Regions from separate parts of the Homo sapiens genome. Here region 2 is linked to region 1. Evidence: promoter capture Hi-C in 16 types of primary human blood cells and fetal thymus (Javierre and others, 2016). All regions are on one chromosome and are shown on one strand. The core of a region is centred on a gene start or on the middle of the fragment in contact, and the rest is flanking DNA. Distances in the headings are between cores, read along the strand shown.

What was found. Contacts are between HindIII fragments. The CHiCAGO score rates a contact against its expected background, and 5 or more counts as called.
Region 2: a contact is called between a fragment that was not itself captured here and the fragment with the promoter of GAL3ST4 in region 1, in 8 of 17 cell types (total B cells, naive CD4 T cells, non-activated CD4 T cells and 5 more). The highest score is 7.3, in total B cells.

What each region holds. Positions count from the first base shown.
Region 1 is chr7:100,165,026-100,169,887 of GRCh38, forward strand. GAL3ST4 (galactose-3-O-sulfotransferase 4) reads right to left here and starts at 3,592. Exons shown (of 4, transcript NM_024637.5): 1 at 3,521-3,592; 2 at 1,946-2,258; 3 at 1,477-1,780. The coding sequence starts at 2,070. GPC2 (glypican 2) reads right to left here. Exons shown (of 10, transcript NM_152742.3): 10 at 4,581-4,862. The HindIII fragment of the contact is 24,826 bases long and covers 1-4,862 here.
Region 2 is chr7:100,201,051-100,206,080 of GRCh38, forward strand. It overlaps STAG3 (STAG3 cohesin complex component), which reads left to right. Exons shown (of 34, transcript NM_001282717.2): 20 at 40-110; 21 at 214-301; 22 at 736-816; 23 at 899-991; 24 at 1,122-1,290; 25 at 1,404-1,540; 26 at 2,971-3,072; 27 at 3,577-3,725; 28 at 3,955-4,083; 29 at 4,177-4,334. It also overlaps the pseudogene CASTOR3P. Among named protein-coding and RNA genes, the nearest start is that of PVRIG, 16 kb to the right of the region's middle. The HindIII fragment of the contact is 283 bases long and covers 1,362-1,644 here.

The DNA.
Region 1 (4,862 bases), core at 2,342-4,841:
CACCATGCCCGGCTAATTTTTTGTATTTTTAGTAGAAACGGGGTTTCACTGTGTTAGCCAGGATGGTCTCGATCTCCTGACCTTGTGATCCACCCGCCTTGGCCTCCCAAAGTGCTGGGATTACAGGCGTGAGCCACTGCGCCCGGCCTTTTTTTTCTTTTGTGAAATGGAGTCTCGCTCTGTTGCCCAGGCTGGAGTGCAGTGGCACAATCTCGGCTCACTGCAACCTCTGCCTCCTGGGTTCAAGCAATTCTCCTGCCTCAGCCTCCCGAGTAGCTGGGATTACAGGCGTGTGCCACCACGCCTGGCTAATTTTTGTATTTTTAGTAGAGACAGGGTTTCACCATGTTGGCCAGGCTGGTCTCGAACTTCTGACCTCAGGTGATCTGCCCACCTTGGTCTCCCAAAGTGCTGGGCTTAGTCCCGGGCTAAAAATACAGCTGATCCTCAAAATGTGAGGGGGTTGAAGAAGACAAGTCAGAAGGCAGTGGGGGAGGTGGGGCCCTGGTGTGACAGTGAAAGGGAGGCTAAGAAAGGGAAGGGGCGTGTTGTCCTAGGTACTTGCCAGGCTGAGGTGGGAGGATCATTTGAGGCCAGCCTGGGCAACATAGTGAGACTCCATCTCTACAAAAAATAAAATAAAAAAATAGCCAGGTGTGGTGGCATGCACCTGTAGTCCCAGCTAGTTGGGAGGCTGAGGTGAGAGGATCGCTTGAGCCCAGGAGTTTGAGGTTACAGTGAGCTATAATTGTACCACTGCATTCCAGCCTGGATGACAGAATGAGACCCTGTCTCACACACACACACACACACACACACACACACACACACACAGGCTGGGCAAGCTCACTCCTGTAATCCCAACCCTTTGGGAGGTCAAGGTGAGCAGATCACTTGAGCCCAGGACTATTTATTTATTTATTTAAGCCCAGGGGTTTGAGATCAGCCTGGGCAACATAGCAAGACCCCATCTCTACAAAAAATTAAAAAGTAGCCACGTGTAGTGGCACATGCCTTAGCCATAGCTACTCAGGAGGCTGAGGTGGGAGGATCACTTGAGCCTGGGAAGTCAAGGCTGCAGTGAGCTATGATTGTGCCACTGCACTCCAGCCTGGGCGACAGAGTAAGACCCTGTCTTCCAAAAAATAATTTAAAAACAGAAGAGTAAGGGGCACCTGGAGGGAGAGTTGGGGGCTCAGAGTTGGCAAGGCACTGATGCCAGGGAAATACATTGGTGAAAGAGAGAGACTGGAGTAAGCGCCAGAGAGAGAAGGGAGGAGGACTTGGGCTCCCAGAAACTACTGGGGAAGGGACACCTGTAGAGAGGATGGCAGGGAGCCCAACTTTGTGGCCCCTATGTCCAACTTTAGGGTGAGATGATGCCTGGGGAGCCCCCAGGTCTGGGCCCCCTCCCTTGGTGGTGTCAGCCTGAGCCCATCTGTTTCTGGTCCCTCCCACCACTGCGACACTCCTTACCTCTTTCAGGTTGAACCTCATGTGGTGACAGAGGATGTGGAAGGGGAGCTGGGTGCCTCCACCCTGTGGGCGGTAGCCTTTTACCCTAGAGGCCTGGAAGAGCTTTGGGTAGCCAAACTGGTAGCGGGCAGGGAGGGCGAAGCGCAGCCCGTGCTGGTCCCCATAGCGGTGAAGCAGGCTCAGCACAGAGCTGCTCCCGGATTTATGTGTCTTCAGGAACACCAGTCGCTGCCGGGGTGGGCAGGACGGAAGGGCTGGTCGTAGGGATGGGGCCGAGGGCTGTCGGAGCTGTAGCCCAGGTAGCCTGGGAAGAGATGGAGGGGGAGTGTCCTGTTCCTCAGCAGCAAATGGGTAGAAGGGACAGAGGGCATGGAGGCTTCTGAGTCCTCAGGAGTCACCAGCCCCAGGTGGGATGGGGAAGAGCAAGTACGGGGCGTCTAGAAGGAGTTGGGGCAAAGTGGGAACTCACCTCCTCTGGAAGGGCCCTCCCAAGAGCTGGAGTGCAAAGCCAATGGTCATGAAGACTCCCAGAGCCACCCCCAGGCTCCGAGGTCCCCAGAGCCGCAGCGTCCTGGCAGGAGAGAGAGGGCCCATGTGGCACAGGGAAGGGTGAGGTGACAGAGAGATGGAGCCAGGGCCAGGAAGAGGGGCAGAGACAGCTGGAGACAGCCGTGCAGCTGCGGAAGGCACTGGTTGGAGATCGGGGGGTCATTCCCCAGGCCTGCTCACAGTCTTGGTTGAGTCTGCCCCCTGAGTTAGCAGATTTTTGCCTCTGTCAGCGTCTAGAAGGGAAATGAGGGGGGAAGAAGGGAAGTCTAAGGAGAGAGGCAGAGGCAGCCTTCTCTCCTGCTGCAGCTGAGACCTCCTTCAGGGAAGGGGAGTGGCTGGGGATGTTGTCTATACCCAGACTCTCCTAGGTGGCCCCACAACTACTGTCTCTGCTCTATCACTTTCTTATCTCCAGTTCCTCCCGCTCCCCACCTACAGTTGTCCCTGAGCCTTGGGGATTTATAAGGGAAGGAGAGAAAAAGCCCCAGCTCGTGAATGAAACAGCCAGCAAGAGAGAGAGAGATCAGATCAATCAGCTCATTAACACAGTCAGGTCAGACCATGGTCGGGAACCTGGTTTCCTCCAGAGCCCCTCTGGCTGTCACAGATGGGGATAAAGAGCCCTATCCCAGGACCAGGAAGGGAAGCCATACAGTGGGAATGAGGATCAGACAGGACACAGGTGTATGAACCCAGGCAGGAGGAAGGGAGGTTGGACTTCCAGGAGTGGCATTGCAATGGGTAAGAGCCATTGGGTTATAAATTCCCGCGCCTCTTTTTTCTCTGTCTCAGCACGGGGCAGACCCCCATGTATGACAGGGGCTGGGGGAGACGTGTGGCTACTTATAAAGCCCAGATCCCTGGACTTACCCACCATTCCACTTTCCAACCTTATCAGTGCACCCGGAGGAGACTGAAAGGGTGGGGCTGGAGAGGGAGACAGAAAGAGAGAGAGACACACACACACACACACACACACACAGAGAAACAGAGAGAGAGAGACAGAGGGACAGAGAGACTATGACACAAAGATAAGGAGAAAGGCGCAAACACTAACTGCAGAGTTCCTTCTGAAGCCCGAGCTTCCTAATCAACCGGGAGTCCAGCCCCGCCCCTTCAGATTACAACTCGCGATCAGGGACCACGGCCCCTCCAACAAGCCCCGACAGCTCCCTGCTCCGATGAGCCAGGGGTAACCCCAAGCAGAGAGAAGCCACACTTTTACTCCCGGAGACCTGCCCTCTCTGGCATCACTCCCCAATTCCCTCCCTGATCACAGCCCCTGGGGTCTAGCCGCGTCTCCCCTATCCAGAGTTCTTCATTTCCTTCCATCCATCTCTCCCTTCCCATGATTGGAGATCCCAGCCCTCTGTCCCCTCCAGCTTTGGTGACTGCCCAGTTGCCCCCGCTGGGGTTCCATGAACCCCTCATGTCTCCTCCCATAAATTAGAGGGTCCCTCCACTGGTCCTATCCTTGGTTTCACTTCCCACTCACCAGGCCACAAGGGGAGCAGCAAGGGAAATCGGGCCGGGCCCTCCCGCCCATCCCAGCCACCGCCCGACTCTTGGCTCAGCTCAACTTTCCCCAAGAACTTTCTCAGCGCCCAGGCTCCTCCCTCCTCCCTTTGTGCCGCCAGCCCCAGCAGCTGCTGCAGCTTTGATCGCGGTTCTAGGTCTCTCCCTCGCTGCATCTTCCCCTCTTCGGCAGGGCACCCAGACTCCTCTTGGAAGACACCACTTCCGCCCCCGCTTTCACACTTGGGAATCAATCCTACCATTTTCTCTTGGCTTGCCGCAGAACAAAAGATTCATTCAGGCGGTGGAAAGAAAGAAGGAAGGAAGGAGAAAGTGATATTTGAAAGCAGACATTGTCAAGGACGTGGCAAGGTAGCCAGAGACTGACACTCAGAGAACAAGGCCTCCCATCCTGAAGGCAGGGGGCAGTGGTGTGGTCACCTTAATAATGCTTCGTGGCCGGGTGCGGTGGCTCACGCCTGTAATCCCAGCACTTTGGGAGGCTAAGGCTGGTGGATCGCTTGAGGTCAGGAGTTTGCGATCAGCCTGGCCAACATGGTGAAACCCCGTCTCTACTAAAAATACAAAAATTAGCTGACTGTGGTGGCAGGCGCCTGTAATCCCAGCTACTCAGGAGGCTGAGGCAGGAGAATCATTTGAACTGGGGAGGCGGAGGTTGCAGTGAACTGAGATCGCGCCATTGCACTCCAGCCTCGCGACAACAGCGAGACTCTATCTCAAAAAAAAAAAAAAAAAAGCCTCATGTTCAAAGAGCATTTTGCAGGTGACAAGGTGCTTTTTCACACAGATTCTATTTGGTCCCCACAATTCTCCCTGTTGTACAAACGAAGATGCTCAGAGGCCCAGAGGGTGGGCAATTTGGAGATCAGAGGTTATTGTCTAGGCCCGCCTCCTGGGGGACAGGTGCCAAGGGAAGTGAAAAGCCGGCAGAAAATGAGCCAGTCACAGAGGCTCTGAGACCTCTGCTAGGAGCCAGGGCTCAGGCACTGATGGTGACAGCACAGAAGCCACACATGGGGTCCAATACATTACCATTTATTTGCAGAATAAACATGGACTCAAACACTGAAACATGGAGTTTGTGAAGGATGTGGGTGGCAGAGGTCACGAGATGAGCACCCCCCCACCTTGTTTTTTTTAAAATTTGGTTTAAGAAATTGATACTGAAAAAACTCAACAGAACCCAGGCCCATGAAGTCTCACATCCTACTCAAGCACCCTCAGTCCCCTGCCCTGCATCCAGCTGGTCCATTTCTGAGACCAGATGCCCCCACCCCTCCCCACTTCCAACTTCCTTCAAA
Region 2 (5,030 bases), core at 253-2,752, 34 kb after region 1:
CTGGGGGAAATGCTATTGTGGATCTTCTTTCCTTCTCAGTCGTCCTTCCTAGATGAGGATGAGGTATATAATCTGGCAGCCACTCTGAAACGCCTCTCTGCCTTCTACAAGTGAGTGGCTTTCCTCCTCTTCCCCATCCCGTTTTTACTGGTGTCTGTGGAGTTGGTTCCCTCTGTTCTTTTCCAGTATAACATTCCCCTTTCTCCCCCAAAGCACTCATGACCTGACTCGCTGGGAGCTCTATGAGCCATGTTGCCAACTCCTGCAGAAGGCTGTGGACACAGGAGAGGTTCCTCACCAGGTGAGTGGACAGGCTAGAGATGGGTTGGGGGCTGGGGGGCTAGATTTTAAGGACCTACGTTCTAGGTGGCCACTAGGTGTGTCAAGTCTCAGTGCGTGGAGTGGACAAAGCGAGGAAGATCAGGTGGGTGGGGGTCACCTCTTACATTCCTCTCTTAGAAGGTGGACTCTACTTCCAGGGTCTTCTTGGATTTCCTGGAAGCCAAGGATAATATTGAGGGATTCTAGAAGACGTAGAGTAAATTAGGGAGCGGTGACATTTCTACTTCGTGTAGATGCCTCTGAAGAATGTCCAGAATATCACTCATTTTCCACTGGAAAAGGAATTAGCTCTCCCTTTACTCATTTTCTCTCCTCTTCACTGGTGTGTTTCTGGCTATCTGTCTCTCCCTCTCCTAACCCAAACCTCATTTTTCAAACCCTTTGTTGTTACAGGTTATCCTGCCAGCCTTGACTCTTGTCTATTTTTCCATTCTCTGGACACTAACCCACATTTCTAAATCAGATGCTTCCCAGGTGAGTGTGGGTCTTAGATGGGATAATGGGAACAGAGGAGTCTGTGTCTTCATTCTTCCCCTTCAAGCCACTGTGCCCACAGAAGCAGCTGTCGAGTTTGAGGGACAGAATGGTGGCCTTCTGTGAACTCTGCCAGAGTTGCCTCTCAGATGTGGATACTGAGATCCAGGAGCAGGTGAGTACTGACTCAAGTGGGAGCAACAAGGCGAGTATCCCTGCCCCCATTCCAAGGAGAAATTGACAGTGTCATTTCTACCTTGGGAAACATTCTGTCCTTTTAAACATCCTTTCTTTTCCCCCTACAGGCTTTTGTCTTATTAAGTGATCTACTTCTCATCTTTAGCCCTCAGATGATTGTTGGGGGCCGTGATTTCCTTAGGCCACTTGTCTTTTTTCCTGAAGCTACTCTCCAGTCTGAGCTAGCCAGCTTCCTCATGGACCACGTCTTCATCCAGCCGGGAGACCTGGGCAGTGGTGCAGTGACTCTATACCTGGGGCTCAGTAAGGGCTGGGGCTTGGGTGTAGCTCAGAAATATAGGGCAGGAAGCTTAAGTCTGTGATTCCCTTTTGCCTTCCATGTGAGCCAGGTGATTCCCAGGAGGATCATTTACAGATAGAGCGGCTACACCAGCGGCGCCGCCTCCTAGCCGGGTTCTGCAAGCTGTTGCTTTATGGGGTGCTGGAGATGGATGCAGCCTCAGATGTTTTCAAACACTACAACAAGGTACACCAAGGCCCTACAGAAATAAAAGAGAAGGGAGCAAGTTGAGCACAGCCATGACTTGGAAACATAATAGCACTACAGGTGGGGGATATCCAATGGTTTCAAGCTTAAAGGAGAAGTAGGAGGGAAAGGCACTGGGAGTTCAGAATAAGGGGACAAAGAAAAGAGACTTAATAGTAAATAATTATGGAGAAAAAGCTGTGAAGAAATTCACTGGAGGGGAAATAGCTTATTCTTCCTGTCCAGAAATATTTATTTTTCTCTGACCCCAGTCTATGGAATGGGGTAACATAAGAAGGAAAAAAGAATAAAAGAGGGATCAGTCCTCACAGGATACCTAGATAGGTGCCCCAGTTTCCTCAACCCACCAGTATTGATTTATGCTTATTGAGCACCTGCTGTGTGCCAAGCACCATTCCAGGAGCTAAGGCCACAGCAGTGAACAAAACACACAAGTTCCTATTTGGTGGAGCTTCCATTGTAGTTGGGGAGAGACAAATAGTGAAGGTGTCAGTGCTGTGTGAGAGGGCACTGTCAGGCTTACTTCTCTTCTCCAAGAATTGGGCTTGGGGCAGTGTTTATTTCTTTTCTTTTCTTTTTTTTTTTTTTTCCTGAGACAGATTCTAGCTCTGTCGCCAGGCTAGAATGCAATGGCACTATCTCGGCTCACTGCAACCTCTGCCTCCCGGGGTTCAAGCAGTTCTCCTGCCTCAGCCTCCCAAGTAGCTGGGATTACAGGCATGCGCTGCCACGCCCAGCTAATTTTTATAGTTTTAGTAAAGACAGGGTTTCACCATCGCCAGGATGGTCTTGATCTCCTGACCTTGTGATCCGCCCAACTTGGCCTCCCAAACTGCTGGGATTATAGGCGTGAGCCACCATGCCTGGCCTGTTTCATTATTTGTTTTTTATTTTATTTATTTATTTATTTATTTATTTTTTGAGACGGAATCTCGCTCTGTCGCCCAGGCTGGAGTGCAGTGGCGTGATCTCGGCTCACTACAAGGTCCGGCTCCTGGGTTCACGCCATTCTCCTGCCTCAGCCTCCCGAGTAGCTGGGACTACAGGCACCCACCACCACGCCCGGCTAATTTTTTGTATTTTTAGTAGAGACGGGGTTTCACCGTATTAGCCAGGATGGTCTCGATCTCCTGACCTCGTGATCCACCCGTCTTGGCCTCCCAAAGTGCTGGGATTACAGGTGTGAGCCACTGCACCCGGCCTTATTATTTGTTTACCGAAACTCTGATTTATTTTGGGCTTTGCACCTGTTGATTAGAGATGAAGTCTAGTCTGAATTATTTTATGCTTCAGTTCATGTTTCCTACCTAAGGGAGTTTGGGAGGGAGACATGATTAGGGATGTGAAGGAAGAAACCAAATGGTCTTTTCCACCAGTCAGACATTACCTTCCCCACTCTTTCCCCTCAGTTCTACAATGACTATGGTGACATTATCAAGGAAACATTAACTAGAGCAAGGCAGATTGACCGAAGTCATTGTTCCCGAATCCTGCTGCTGAGCCTCAAGCAGGTGCGCCCTTCTGCCTTGAGGACATGCCAGCCCTGTTGTCCCCAAGTCTCTGTCTACCCTCAGCCACTCAGAATGTAAGATCCTTCAGAGCAGTAACTTTTCTTGTTTTGACTCTTAACTTTACGTGATAGGTTCCTTCATTCTTAGTAGACCCTTGGGAAGTATTTTTTTTTTAACTGACTGGGCAACCCCATCAAAAGTAACTTATCAGGACATTGGAACGCCAACAAGGAAGTGATAGGGAGTTCCTAATTATTTTTCAGTCTGTTCTCTCTCAGCCTCCTTCAGTTACTATAGACGTTTTTATTTAATGTTATGGAGTAGAGGTGATTGGCTTTGTTTGCTGCAGGGGTATCGGGAGTTCCCTAGAAGGAAGGAAAGAGTAAAAGTAGTAGATGGTGTCCCAAGGCCTTTGGAATTTCTGAGTAGAGAAGAGAATGCTGGACTTCTCTGTTTCCGCCGTGTTCCTCCCTTTCCCACATGCACCATGTCTCCTGGACACAGCTGTACACAGAACTGCTGCAGGAGCATGGGCCCCAGGGCCTGAATGAGCTTCCTGCCTTCATCGAGATGAGGGACCTGGCCCGGAGGTTTGCCTTGAGTTTTGGACCCCAGCAGCTGCAGAACCGTGACCTCGTGGTCATGCTACACAAGTAGGAAGTATTGGTTGCAGGTTGTGTCCAGGGAGGGCTGGGAACGAGGTCTTGGAGGGAGGTCTCGGAGGGAGGGTATGTGTGTCAAGGCATAGCAGTCAGGTTAGGGGTGGGTATGCCTTTGGAGACAAGCTGGGGACGGGGGGAGGGTGCATTTGGACAGGATAGCTCAGGCCTGGGAGGGAAGTGGGAAGAGACTTTCTTCCTAAAATAATTCTGCCCAACCAAGGGAAGGCATCCAGTTCTCCTTGTCTGAGCTTCCTCCAGCTGGCTCCTCCAATCAGCCTCCAAATCTGGCATTCCTGGAGCTCCTTTCAGAGTTTTCCCCCCGACTCTTCCATCAGGACAAGCAGCTTTTGTAAGTTGGTGGGTGGATAGAGATGTGGATTAGGGAAGGGCCTGCTGAGGGCCCAGTAGCCCCTTCAGGCTTTTGGTTCTACCTCTTTCATAGACTGTCCTATCTAGAAAAGTGCCTGCAGCATGTCTCCCAGGCACCTGGCCATCCCTGGGGCCCAGTCACCACCTACTGCCACTCCCTCAGCCCTGTGGAGAACACAGCAGAGACCAGCCCTCAGGTCCTCCCCAGCTCCAAGAGGAGGCGCGTTGAAGGTAGGGTGCTGTGTGTGGGTATGGGGGTGCCCAGCAGGTGGTCGTTGGCTGCCTGCAAACTTATTTTGTCAAGTATTTCATTGAGCATCTACTGTCATTCAGGGTATTAATTTCTTTCAAGGTTTATCTAGTCAACTGAAAACCTGTATTAAAAATCAAATAGAGGGCCAGGTGTGGTGGCTCATGCCTGCAATCCCAGCACTTTGGGAGGCCGAGGCAGGCGGCTCACGAGGTCAGGTGTTCGAGACCAGCCTGGCCAAGATGGTGAAACCCCGTCTCTACTAAAAATACAAAAATTAGCTGGGCATGGTGGCGCGCATCTGTAATCCCAACTACTCAGGAGGCTGAGGCAGGAGAATCACTTGAACCCGGGAGGCGGAGGTTGCCGTGAGCTGAGATTGCGCGACTGCACCCCAGCCTGGGTGACAGAGCGAGACTCTGTCTCAAAAAAAAAAAAAAGAAACTGATGATAAAACCAAATATTGAACTAAGAAATCTATACATTCAGAGTACCCTCCTCAACATCTTGTATTCCATTATTTTCGAAACCTTGGACACTTTTACACAACCTTCATTGTTTTTTACCTTCAGATCACCTGTTGTCTTATAAGTTGCCTAAGGTTTTGTTTTTGTTTTTGTTTATTTTTTGAGATGGAGTCTTGCTCTGTTGCCCAGGCTGGAGTGCAGTGGCGCCAT